Regions from separate parts of the Homo sapiens genome. Here region 1 is linked to region 2. The links are contacts of gene promoters, found by promoter capture Hi-C in human tissues and cell types (Jung and others, 2019). All regions are on one chromosome and are shown on one strand. Each heading gives the region's core, a stretch centred on a gene start or on the middle of the fragment in contact. The rest is flanking DNA. Distances are from core to core; before and after follow the strand shown.

The links. Contacts are between HindIII fragments. The study calls those that stand out against the background at their distance.
Region 1: a fragment that was not itself captured here is called in contact with the fragment with the promoter of HMX3 in region 2 in 1 of the 25 tissues and cell types used here (lymphoblastoid cells).

What each region holds. Positions count from the first base shown.
Region 1 is chr10:123,334,014-123,340,553 of GRCh38, forward strand. No RefSeq gene overlaps it. Among named protein-coding and RNA genes, the nearest start is that of LINC02641, 11 kb to the right of the region's middle. The HindIII fragment of the contact is 5,290 bases long and covers 2,529-6,540 here.
Region 2 is chr10:123,131,332-123,137,485 of GRCh38, forward strand. HMX3 (H6 family homeobox 3) reads left to right here and starts at 4,639. Exons shown (of 2, transcript NM_001105574.2): 1 at 4,639-5,119; 2 at 5,727-6,154. The coding sequence starts at 4,720. RefSeq lists enhancers at 1,506-1,615, 1,682-1,976, 3,854-4,804, 5,987-6,154 and silencers at 3,808-3,927, 3,958-4,087, 4,468-4,547, 4,598-5,007, 5,018-5,067 and 1 more. The HindIII fragment of the contact is 9,325 bases long and covers 1-6,154 here.

The sequences.
Region 1 (6,540 bases), core at 3,924-6,423, 200 kb after region 2:
ACCCTCTTTCAGATATCCAGAACTGCTGTTCCTCCCTGACAGCAAAGTTTCCTGAGTGCTGATCACACGCTAGGTATGCATGCACTTAGGCCTTACATAGGTTAAAATTAGTTCTCAGTCCTCTGAGATAATATGGTACCCCCTTTTTGTAGATAAAAAATTTTGAAGTTTAGAGAGGCTAAAGTTGTGTGTGCAAATGCACTCCCTGCCACTCAGGGTAGAACTACTCTGCCTTTATTTAGTATTTAGACAGAAATGCACTTCGATTTGCTATAATCACAAGAGGTTTTTTGTTTGTTTGTTTGTTTTAAAAAAGAAAAAGATCTGGTCCAAGATAGCAGTAACTATAACGTCATGATGACCTCTGGGTATAACTCCTCAGTGTAGACCCTGATCCACAAGGCTCCCCTGGGGTCAGGAGTTCAGTGATGCAGTGCGCTGGGCTGAAGGGGCCCAAGGAGGGAGGAGGATGAATTTGGGGCCATGTAAGGCACAGGATCAAAGACTTGAGGTATGATAGATAAAGCAAGGATTTGAAGGTCATCTGGCAGTCTGCTGCTGAAATTAGAAATGCGGAATCTCAGCTGGGCGCAGTGGCTCACACCTGTAATCCCAGCACTTTGAGAGGCTGAGGTGGGTGGATCACCTGAGGTCAGGAGTTTGAGACCAGACTGGCCAATATGGCAAAACCCTGTCTCTACTAAAAAAAAAAAAAAAAAAAAATTAGCTGGGCATGGTGGCAGGTGCCTGTAATCCCAGCTACTTGGAAGGCTGGGGCAAGAGAATTGCTTGAACCTGGGAGGCGGAGGTTGCAGTGAGCTGAGATCACGCCACTGCACTCCAGCCTGGGTGATGAAGCGAGACTCTGTCTCCAAAAAAAAAAAAAAAAAAAAAAAAAAGTGGGGGGATCTCAGGGTGTTTCTTTTGCAAAGTTTTTGCCTAATTTCGTGTGTGTGTTTGCTTTCCAGTATGTTTGCCTTTTCCTAGTTGGGCTACCACCTTTATTCCCTGTCCTGTGACTCTCCACCAAAACGATCTGAACCGTCTACTGAAATGCCTGCAGTACCCATGCAGGAGACCTTGGTCTTGCTGACAGTTTCTTTTTTTAAAATTAAGTAGTTAATTAGTAAATTAATTTTTACAATATGATTTTAGGTTCAGGGGTACATATACAGGTTTATTATTACAGGTCAACTGTGTGTCGCGGGGGTTTGGTGTACAGATTGTTTTATCACCCAGGTAATTAGCAGAGTATTCCATAGGTCATTTTTTGATCCTCACCCTCCTCCCACCCTCCACCCTCAAGTAGGCCCTGGTGTCAGTTGTTCCCTTCTTTGTGTCCATATGTACTCAATGTTTGCTTCCACTAAGTGAGAACATGTGGTATTTTGTTTTCTGTTCCTGTGTTAGTTTCCTTACAATAATGGCCTCCAGTTCCATTCATGTTGCTGCTGAGGACATGAGCTCATTCTCTTTTATGGCTGTGTAGTACTCCGTGGTGTATATGTACCACATTTTCTTTATCCAGTCTATCATTAATGGGCATTTAGGTTGATTCCATGTCTTTGCTACTGTGAATAGTGCTGTGATTAACATACATGTGCATGTGACTTTATGATAGAACAATCTATATCCTTCGGGTATACGCCAAGTAATGGAAATTAAACAACCTGCTCCTGAATGACTTTTGGGTAAATCATGAAATTAAGGCAGAAATCAAGAAATTCTTTGAAACTAATGAAGACAAAGATACAACATACCAGAATCTCTGGGACACAGCTAAGACAGTGTTAATGGGGATGTTTATAACACTAAACTCCCACATCAAAAAGAAAGATCTCAAGTTAATATCACAACTGAAAAAAATAGAGAAATAAGAGCAAACCAATCCCAAAGCTAGCAGAAGAAAAGAAATAACCAAAATCAGAGGTGCACTGAAGGACATTGAGACATGAGAAATCATGCAAAAGATCAACAAATTCAGTAGTTTATTCTTTTAAATAATTAATAAGATAGATTGACTGCTGGCTAGAATAACAAAGAAAAAAAGAGAGAAGATCTGAATAAACACAATCAGAAATGACAAAGGAGGACATTACCACTGACCCCACAGAAATAGAAAAAATCCTCAGAGACTACTACGAATACCTATATGCACATAAGCTAGAAAACCTAGAAGAAATGGGTAAATTCCTAGAAACATAAAACCTGCCAAGATTGAATCAGGAAGAAATTGAATCCTTGAATAGACTGTATTAGTTTGTTTTCATGCTGCTGATAAAGACATACACGAAACTGGAAACAAAAAAACTTTCATTGGACTTACAGTTCCACATGGCTGGGGAGGCTTCAGAATCATGGTGGGAGTTGAAAGGCACTTCTTACATGGCAGTGGCAAGAGAAAAATGAGGAAGAAGCAAAAACGGAACCCCCCGATAAACCCATCAGATCTCGTGAGACTTATTCACTATCACAAGAATAGCGTGGGAAAGACTGACCCCCATGATTCACTTACCTCCCCCTGGGTCCCTCCCACAACACATGGAAGTTCTGGGAGATACAATTCAAGTTGAGATTAGGGTGGGGACACAGCCATACCATATCATTCCACCCCTCATGTCCTCACATTTCAAAACCAATCATGCCTTCCTAATAGTCCCCCAAAGTCTTAACTCATTTCAGCATTAACTCAAAGTCCACAGTCTGAAGTTTCATCTGAGACAAGGCAAGTCCCTTCCGCCTATGAGCCTGTAAAATCGAAAGCAAGCTAGTTACTTCCTAGATACAATGCGGGTACAGGTATTGGGTAAATACAGCCATTCCATGTGGGAGAAATTGGCCAAAACAAAGGGGTTACAGGACCCATGGAAGTCTGAAATCCAGCAGGGCAAATTTTAAAGCTCCAAAATGATCTCCTTTGCCTCCAAGTCTCACATCCAGGTGATGTTGATGCAAGAGGTGGATTCCCATGGTCTTGGGCAGCTCCACACCTGTGGCTTTGCAGGCTACAGCCTCCCTCCTGGCTGCTTTCATGGGCTGGCCTTGAGTGTCTGTGGCTTTTCCAGGCGCAAAGTGCAAGCTGTTGGTGGATCTACCAATCTGGGTTCTGGAGGACAGCAATGACCCTCTTCTCACAGCTCCACTAGGTAGTGCCCCAGTAGGGACTCAGTGTGGGGGCTCTGACCCCACCTTTCCCTTTTGCACTGCCCTAGCAGATGTTCTCCATGAGGGCCCCACCCCTGCAGCAAACTTTTACCTGGGCATCCAGGCATTTCCATACATCTTCTGAAATCTAGTGGAGGTTCCCTAACCTCAATTCTTGACTTCTGTGCACCCGCAGGCTCAACACCACATGGAAGCTGCCAAGTCTTGGGGCTTCCACCCTCCAAAGCCACAGCCTGAGCTCTATGTTGGCCCCTTTCAGCCACAGCTGGAGTAGCTGGGACACAGGGCCCCAAGTCCCTAGGCTGCACACAGCAGGGGGACCCTGGGCCTGGCCCACAAAACAACTTTTTCCTCCTGGGCCTCTAAGCCTGTGTTGGGGGGAGCTGCTGTGAAGGTTTCTGACATGGTCTGGAGACATTTTCCCCATGGTCTTGGGGATAACATTAGGCTCCTTTCTACTTATGCAAATTTCTGCAGCCAGCTTGAATTTCTCCTCAAAAAATTGTTTTTTCTTTTCTACTGCATCATCAGACTACAAATTTTCTGAACTTTTATGCTGTTTCCCTTTTAAAATATAATGCTTTTAACAGCACCCACATCACCTTTTGCATGCTTTGTTGCTTAGAAATTTCTTCCACCAAATACCCTAAATCATCTCTCTCAAGTTCAAAGTTCCACAAATCTATGGCAGGGGCCAAATGCGGCCTGTCTCTTTGTTAAAACTAACAAGAGTCACCTTTGTTCCAGTTCCCAACAAGTTCCTCATCTCCATCTGAGACCACCTCAGCCTGGACCTTATTGTTCATATCACTATCAGCATTTTTGTCAAAGCCATTCAACAAGTCTGTAGGAGGTTCCAAACTTTCCCACATTTTCCTGTCTTCTTCTGAGCCCTCCGAATTGTTCCAATCTCTGCCTGTTACCCAGTTCCAAAGTCACTTCCACATTTTCGGATATCTTTACAGCAACATCCCAGTCTATTGGTACCGAGTTACTGTATTAGTCTTTTCTCATGCTGCTGATAAAGACATACCTGAGACTGGGAACAAAAAGAGGTTTAATTGGACTTACAGTTCCACATGGCTGGGGAGGCTTCAGAATCACGGTGGGAGGCGAAAGGCACTTCTTACATGGTGGTGGCAAGAGAAAAATGAGGAAGAAGCAAAAGCAGAAACCCCTGATAATCCCATCAGATCTCATGAGACTTATTCACTATCATGCAAATAGCACAGGAAAGATTGGTCCCCATGATTCAATTACCTCCCCTAGGTCCCTCCCTCAACATGTGGGAATTCCGGGAGATACAATTCAAGTTGAGATTTGGGTGGGGACACAGCCAAACCATTTTATAGACCAATAATGAGTTCTGAAATTGAATCAATGATAAAAAGCCTACCAACCAGAAAAGGCCCAGGATCCGACAGATTCACAGCCGAATTCTACCAGACGTATAAAAAGAGCTGTTACCATTCCTACTGAAACTACTCCAAAAAAATTGAGGAGGAGGGACTCCCCCCCTAACTCATTCTATGAGCCAAGCATCATCTTAATACCAAAACCTGACAAAGGCACAACCAAAAAAGAAAACTTGCTGACAGTTTCACTGCATTCCACAGTATTGCATTTCCCTCCTAGTGGGAGAACAATTTCCCCTTTGGGATGGAAATTCTGCATTCTGATGGAAGAGAGAAAAGGCAACCTGTTTGCTCAGCTCTGGTGAGAACACTTAGTTTCAGATGCCTGGACTTGCTGGACCGATGTACACATATTGCAAATGGTCCCCAGCCTAATGGCCCTGCCAGTGTCTCCTACAGGGTGGAGATGACAGTTGATTTTAGAGGTTCCCGGAAACAGGTGCACATGGTAAGGAAAATACTCTCTTTTCATCCTTCTCTGGAATTTTCTAATCAAGTTGAGGAAAAAGGCTCAGTTTGTGCTAACATGTCTTTAACACCTTTCTAACATTTCTTAACACGATTTTGTTTGTTTCTATTTTTAAGCACAGGGAGGAGGCCTCAGGTCAGAGTGCTCCTGCTCCTCGGGTAGCCCATCCATCTAGCAGTTTTAGTTTTCTTTGTACGGCTACTTTATGGTTAATAAAGCCACTTTGCAAAATTATAAAGTTTCTAAAGAAATTATGAAAATAGTGTCACTGTATTAGACAAATGAAAACAATAGTGGCTGAGGCAGAAGAACTGCTTGAACCCGGGAGGCGGAGGTTGCAGTGAGCTGAGATCACACCTCTGCACTCCAGCCTGGGCCACAGAGTGAGACTCTGTCTCAAAACAAAAAAAGGAAAAAAAAGTAGAAAAAAAGTAGTTACCCATTTTACTATAAAATTTTGATGCCTTTTTTTAAGTACAAAAATGGAAATCATATTCCTAGTATCCTTCTGTTTTCTTCCCTCACTAATATAATAGCATACCTATTTACATGGTATCACAAGTGCTTTATAAACATGGCATTAATGGCTTAGTTCTTTTTTGATTATAAAATTAAAATGTAGAAAGGTCAAATAAGAACCTAAGAATAAAAGAAGTAAGAATAATACAATTACTTAAAGAATGTCACTGTAAGGGTTTTAAAGCTTTTCTTTTTCTTTTTATTCTTTTTCTTATGTGTGTTTATAATATGTACATTTAATTTTTTAAAAATTGAATCACACAATTTTACAGTAACAGTTTTCATGTGCTTAGTATTTTATTCTATTTTTTTACATGTATGTGCCATAAAACTTTGGATTATTTGGTTTGGTTAGCGCCCCTAAAAAAATTGTCAGTCCAAAAGGTGAGTGTTTCTTAAATTATATATCATACGTTATATATGACTAAATTGTTTCCTAAAAAAAGTGTGTCGATTTATTTTCCCACAAGCAAAATATGAAAGTTTATTACAGCCTCTTCAGTGTTTGGAGCTCTTATTCATGAGATTTCTACTACTTTTATAGGCAAAATGTTTTATTTTTAGTTTTTCAATTCGCATTTTTTTAAAATTTTATTATTATTATACTTTAAGTTTTAGGGTACATGTGCACAATGTGCAGGTTAGTTACATATGTACACATGTGCCATGCTAGTGTGCTGCACCCATTAACTCGTCATTTAGCATTAGGTATATCTCCTAATGCTATCCCTCCCCCCTCCCCCCACCCCACAACAGTCCCCAGAGTGTGATGTTCCCCTTCCTGTGTCCATGTGTACTCATTGTTCAATTCTCACCTATGAGCGAGAACATGCGGTGTTTGGTTTTTTGTCCTTGCGATAGCTTACTGAGAATGATGATTTCCAATTTCATCCATGTCCCTACAAAGGACATGAACTCATCATTTTTTTTTGGCTGCATAGTATTCCATGGTGTATATGTGCCACATTTTCT
Region 2 (6,154 bases), core at 3,389-5,888:
GGGCATCTCTCCATTGCAGAACTGTGTTAGCTTTCTCAAGGCAACACTGCAAGAACAGACTTTGGCCTGTGGGTTCATCTTGAAGAATGAATGAATGAGGAATAACAGCACAATAGCTAGGACTTACATAGCACTTACTGTAGGCCAGCCCTGTCCTTGTAACAACCCTATGAGGCTAAATGTTTTAGTACTCTCTCCAGCTCTTCCTTGTCATACTTGGGACCTCAGTTTCCTCATCTATCAATCAGAAAGAATAATAGTACCTACCTCACCAAGTTATAGTGCCTGGCTTCTAATAAGGATTCAATGACCGTGAGCCGACATTACCTCCACATAACTGTTACCCTCACTGTCATGAAAGGGTAAGACATTCAGTCACTCTAAGGACATTGTATGTGATGCAGGAAACATATGTGATCAGGCACAGCTTGGCTGTGACCTGTCTCCCAGGGCTGTGTATTTTCTAAGGGTCAGTATTTAGTCAGAGGGAGACATCATTGGCAGCATTCCTGGTGGCATCGAGAAAGATGGGAGAGAACTTTCCAGGAAAGTCCCAGTAAAGAGCTTGTGTAGCATGTGTAGGTAGCACAGTTTCCCCAGGATCACAATTCCAGGCTTTTGTCCATTCTGCCTTCAAAGCAAGGACCTGCAGGTCAGAAGAGGTGGGTGGTAAAATGAGGCCATCAGGACCAGGGCAAACCCTCTATGTTAATTGTGGGGGCCTCCAGCCTGGGAGTTTTGCAGCTTTGGCTAGAAGCCTAAGCAGTCCCCACCCCGTCCATGGATAAGGAGGTGGGCTGTGCCAGGAAGCTGCTCCAAGGAGAAGGACCGTAGTATGGCTATGGAGGGAAGGAAGCAGCCTTCTCTTAGATGAAGTACTGAAAAATATGGAAAGCTCCCCTCCTTTGGGAAGCGCCTTGCTTACTGACTTGTGTGTGTGCACAAACGTGTATGTGCTTTGTGTGTGTGGTGGGCCTGGGGCAGGTGAGAATGCCATGCCAAGCACTCCTGTATCAGGCCTCATGCTTTTGTGTAAAAGTTGGGTGTTAATCACTGGCATTCTCCAGTCCCCTTCTGCCCTCTTGGCTCCTTGTCCCAAGGGTGGGTGGTGTAGAGACCCGCTCTCACAGCCCATCTGCCTGAGATTAGCCTGGGAAAGGTCCCCCAAAGGTCCTATTCCTTGGGCTCCTTTAGGTTTTGTAAAATGCAGCATCAAAAGATCTCAGATTTCATTAAACTCTTTAAAAACAGCTTTTGGGTATGATCAGGCTATCTGAAGGTCCCTAATCAAGTGGGCCAATTCTCTGTAAGGGAACTGTGAATCCATTCATTCATTCATCCATTCATTCATTCGTCTCACTCAGGCATTCAGGCATTAATACAAGCGTTTCCTGAGCACAAGCATTTCCTGAGCACAAGCGTTTCGTCCGCTGATCGGCCGGCGGCGCTGAGTCCTGGGAAGACGAATGAGGCAGGCCCGTTCCCTCCTTCCCTCCCCGAGTCCTTCCTGGAGAACACCTAGCCTGAGGTTAGGACCGGCACCTAAAGGATAGAACGAGACGGGGACCACAGAATGGGCCCTAAAACAGGCAGGAAAAGCGGGAAGGAGGATGACAGGCAGGCGAGACCACTTCCTGTCGTGGCCAGGTAGAGATCAGCAGAGATCTGAAGGCGATTTCACCCACTTCTTCTCCCGGGATCCAGAGAAAAAATGCTTTTGTTTTCTAACTGCGGCGGCGAAGGGCGAGACCTCAATGGCTTTTAAACGTCCTGCGCCGGGACAGCGGTTTCTCCAGCGGAACCTGCAGGCTTGGTTCAGAGGCTGTCCCATAGAGGGCGCTGTCTGCCTGACTTTGAATGGAGTCGTGAGCGCAAGAACGCTGGCAACACCTCTCGCCAGACGGCGAGTAAAGGGCTGAGTCCGCGCCCAGACCCGACTCCCACCAGCTTTCTCGAAGGGGAAGGGAAAGATCTACTCAATACATCCCGCTTTTCAAGCCCAGCAATCCCTAAAACTGAGAGGATGGGCTGAGAGTGCTGACACTGGAGAAGCTCCTCTCCCGGGCCAAACACAAGCACATAACAGCGCCCCTGCGCGCCCCTGGGAGGGGAGTCAACCGGAGAACTTGGGGCGACAACCGGAAAGCCGGGATCCGGTAGCCGCACAGCAGGGATGCGGGCGGCTGTCCCGGACTCTTCTCCCGCCACACTGGGCCTGTCCCCTCCCCATCTGAGTCTAGCGCTGGAGTTGTGATCAGCCACGAGTCCCCCTCCCCAGACTGAACCCTCAGCATTCCCAGTTTAAAGTCGACTTTCGTGCGTCAGAACTCTAGCCAAGTTTGCATGCGTCTGCGCTGAATGGCGAAGCTCCCAAAACACACAGGCATACACGCCGGGGTCTCTCCACGCATACTCGGCCGCGTGGCAGGCTGTGTGCAGGCGGTGCCCACCCAACCCTCATAGACCTACGTGCATCGAGCTATTTCTGCGGTTGGGGGAAAATGACCTCTGGGTATCCAGCAGCGATTGGGCGACCTAGGCCCAGTTTCCTCCTCTCTGGGCGCGGGTTTCCACTTACAAAATCCAAGTATGAGACCCACCCTGCTGGGGTCTCAGGGCAGTGATCCGTTCCAACCCAGATTTTGGATGGCGTAGCGTTTTGCATTCCAGTAAAGCCCTGTGTAAACTCAAGGGAGTAATAACAGTAATTGTTTATGGAAGCGCCATTTACGTTTCCAGATTTCCAAAGCAAAAATGGGGTTCGCTGCTGTAGATGAATGCAGAAAGAAACATTACATATGCCCGTCGAGATTTGGTGGGGGAGGGTCTGACGCCCCAGGACCGAAAAACAAAATCTACCTCTCAAGTGGGGACCCCACACGATCACGTCTGCCAATGCAGGGCGGCCTTGAATTAGGCGAGGCTCAATCTAACGAAAAAGAAAGCGGTGGGGAGGTGAAGGGATCCCAAAAAGCCCTCGTGTGCGGGAGCTTCACCAGGGTGGAAGAGGGTGAGGCCAGTTTGTCACCTTTCTCTGATAAGAAAGCTGTCTCTCGGGAGGGGACCTCACAAACAATTCTGATTTACTTGATGCTTAAATCATGAGTCTTAAATGTCTGCCTCATGGGCTTCTCGTGCGAACCGGGGAGCTGTTTTTAAAGCCAGTGGAGTGGAATGTCCTTTCACTAAGCCGTTCTGCAAAGGTCCAGTGTGGTTCTCTAAGGACTTCGCTGCCGTCGAGACGCGCAGCGGATGCCGCTGCTTGCCGCGGCGGAGGAAGCTACGCCGCTGCGCCTTCGGTTCACCTTGCCCCCATTAAAGCGTTAGTTAGACAGCTCCAAACGCCAGCTGGCCGGAGAGACTTCCTGGGAGAAAGTGCTGTCGTCGGGGTCACAGACTCGGAGTTGATCCGCGAGCCTTGGGCACCGGCGGCCAGAGCAGAGGGGTGCCCTTCCGAGAGCAGCCGTCGGTGCCGAGAAGCTGTTGCCCCAGCAGCCCCACCGAGTGACGCGCGGGTTTTGGCCGGGTCAGCGCGCATACGCACACAGGCACACCCACTCCTGGTCCCGGGGGAAGGCTCACTCTTCGGTTTTCCAGGGCTAAAGGCCAAGGCCACGCGGATTTCTGAGTCCGAAGACGCAGTGCGAGGACTTACACCTGGATTCCCTTACTATCGGCTGGATGGTGGGTGGGGAACCCAAATCCCTCTCTTCTTGGCCTCGCCCTTCCTAGCAGGCTTTAGGAAAAATACCGAGGTCGCCGGACCCCAAAGGGTAGGAAAATGATGAGTTCTCCGAGGGCCGAGGTCACGTCCTGCCTCTTGGGCCGGCGCTGCGTGGCTCTCCAGCTGCGTGGGGGCGGCGGGCCCCTGTCCAGCCCCAGGGGGCGGGGGAGCGGCAGCTGCGAGCGCAGATAACCCCGAGGTGACCCGGGAGGGCCTGGTCCGCCCCTCCCCCCTCCCGCAGGCCTGGCGGCGGGAAGCGGGTCCCTGCGCCGCAGGGGGGAGAGGCAGGCGCGGTCTCCGGGCTCGCGGCCGTTAGTGCGCTTCGGCCAAGGGCGCCGCCTGCTCCGCGTCCCTCGCTCGCCTCCTGCGCTCGCAGGAGCGCTCCGAGTGCCTCTTTAGCGGGAGCCAATATCCTTTTGTGCTAATAGGCTTGTCCTCATTTGCTGCCTAATTGGACTATATAAAGCCAATAACGGGCGGGCTCTTATAGCCCGAAGCCAAAGCGCCAAAATCCGAGGGAAGGCGAGGAGGGGGCGGTGGCGGAGGCGGCTGCGGGGCCGGGGCTCGGCTGAGCCTTCGCCTGCCTAATCCCATTTGCCATTGTACGCGCCCAATCGCCGTATACTCCCCGCATTTAACTTGGATGACATTTTGATTTCATCATTAGCATCCGGCGCCGGATTGACGCAGCCTCGAGCCGGGGACTGCTCTTGCTGCCTCCTCCGCGGGAGCCGCAGCCGCAGCCGAGCCGCCTCGATCCCTCGGTGCCGCGGCAGGGCCGCTCCCCGCCCCTCCGCACCCCTCCCTCATGCGAGCCCGCCCGTCTGGGTCCTCACTCCGCCCTCCCGCCGTTGGATTTGCGCCCGGGGCGGCCCCCGACTTTGCGCCCCGTAGTTGAGTTCCGTTTATGGTCTGATTTCCGGCCTCTCGCCTGCTCGCCCCGCCGCCCGCCTGTCCCGCTCCCTCCCTCCCGGGGACCCGGAGGAGAGGGGACCATGCCGGAACCCGGGCCGGACGCTGCCGGCACCGCCAGCGCACAGCCCCAACCGCCGCCGCCCCCCCCACCCGCTCCCAAGGAGTCCCCGTTCTCCATCAAGAACCTGCTCAACGGAGACCACCACCGGCCGCCCCCTAAGCCTCAGCCGCCCCCACGGACGCTCTTCGCGCCAGCCTCGGCTGCCGCCGCCGCCGCCGCTGCCGCTGCCGCGGCGGCCAAGGGGGCCCTGGAGGGCGCCGCGGGCTTCGCGCTCTCGCAGGTGGGCGACCTGGCTTTCCCTCGCTTTGAGATCCCGGCGCAGAGGTTTGCCCTGCCCGCGCACTACCTGGAGCGCTCCCCAGCCTGGTGGTACCCCTACACCCTGACCCCCGCCGGCGGCCACCTCCCGCGACCTGAAGGTACCGACCTCTCTTTGAACTTTCGTTGTCCCCCTGCGCGCCCGCCCCGTCCCCGCCCCGCGCTGCTTCCCTCCGCAGTTCTGGGACCCCAGCACCCGCAAACCCTCTGCTCGGTCAGTTTTTTTCGGCCCCTAGCCTGCCCTCGCGCTGGGTTGCGCTGCCCGTTAATCCAATCCCACTTGGTGAGAAAAGAAGTGGAATTGGAGCCCCGGGCACGGTGCTTCCCGGGAAAAGTGGCCTCGGGCGTGAATAGGGAGGCTTCGGACGGCCGGGGCTTGGGACACGGCCTGGAAGGAGGGGGTGATTCCAATGCGCCTAAGCCGAAAGGGAACCGTTCTGCCGGCCCCTGGCGAGGAAGCTGAGGGAATGGAAGGAGGTGGCCGCGCTACCACCATCTGCTTGCCTGTCCTCGGGAGGAGGGGGATCCCAGGACTCGGCGTCCCTTCTCTGGCCCAGCCGAGAAGGAGGCAGCCCGCGGGAATGGTGAGGCCTCATGGCCTGGGACCTGGAGGCCGGCGCGGGTTGAGCCTGCCGTCCCCAGGCGCCGGGCCTCGCTCAAGGCTGTGTCGGTGTGCATGTGTGTGCGTCCGTCTGTCTGTCTCCCCAGCCTCGGAGAAGGCCTTGCTGAGAGACTCCTCCCCCGCCTCCGGCACAGACCGCGACTCTCCGGAGCCACTGCTCAAGGCCGACCCCGATCACAAGGAGCTGGACTCCAAGAGCCCGGACGAGATCATTCTGGAGGAGAGCGACTCCGAGGAAAGCAAAAAGGAAGGCGAAGCGGCGCCAGGCGCGGCCGGGGCGAGCGTAGGGGCGGCGGCGGCCACTCCGGGCGCAGAAGACTGGAAGAAGGGCGCTGAAAGTCCAGAGAAGAAGCCGGCGTGCCGCAAGAAGAAGACGCGCACAGTCTTCTCGCGCAGCCAGGTCTTCCAGCTCGAGTCCACCTTCGACATGAAGCGCTATCTGAGCAGCTCGGAGCGAGCCGGCCTGGCCGCGTCCCTGCACCTCACCGAGACGCAGGTCAAGATCTGGTTCCAG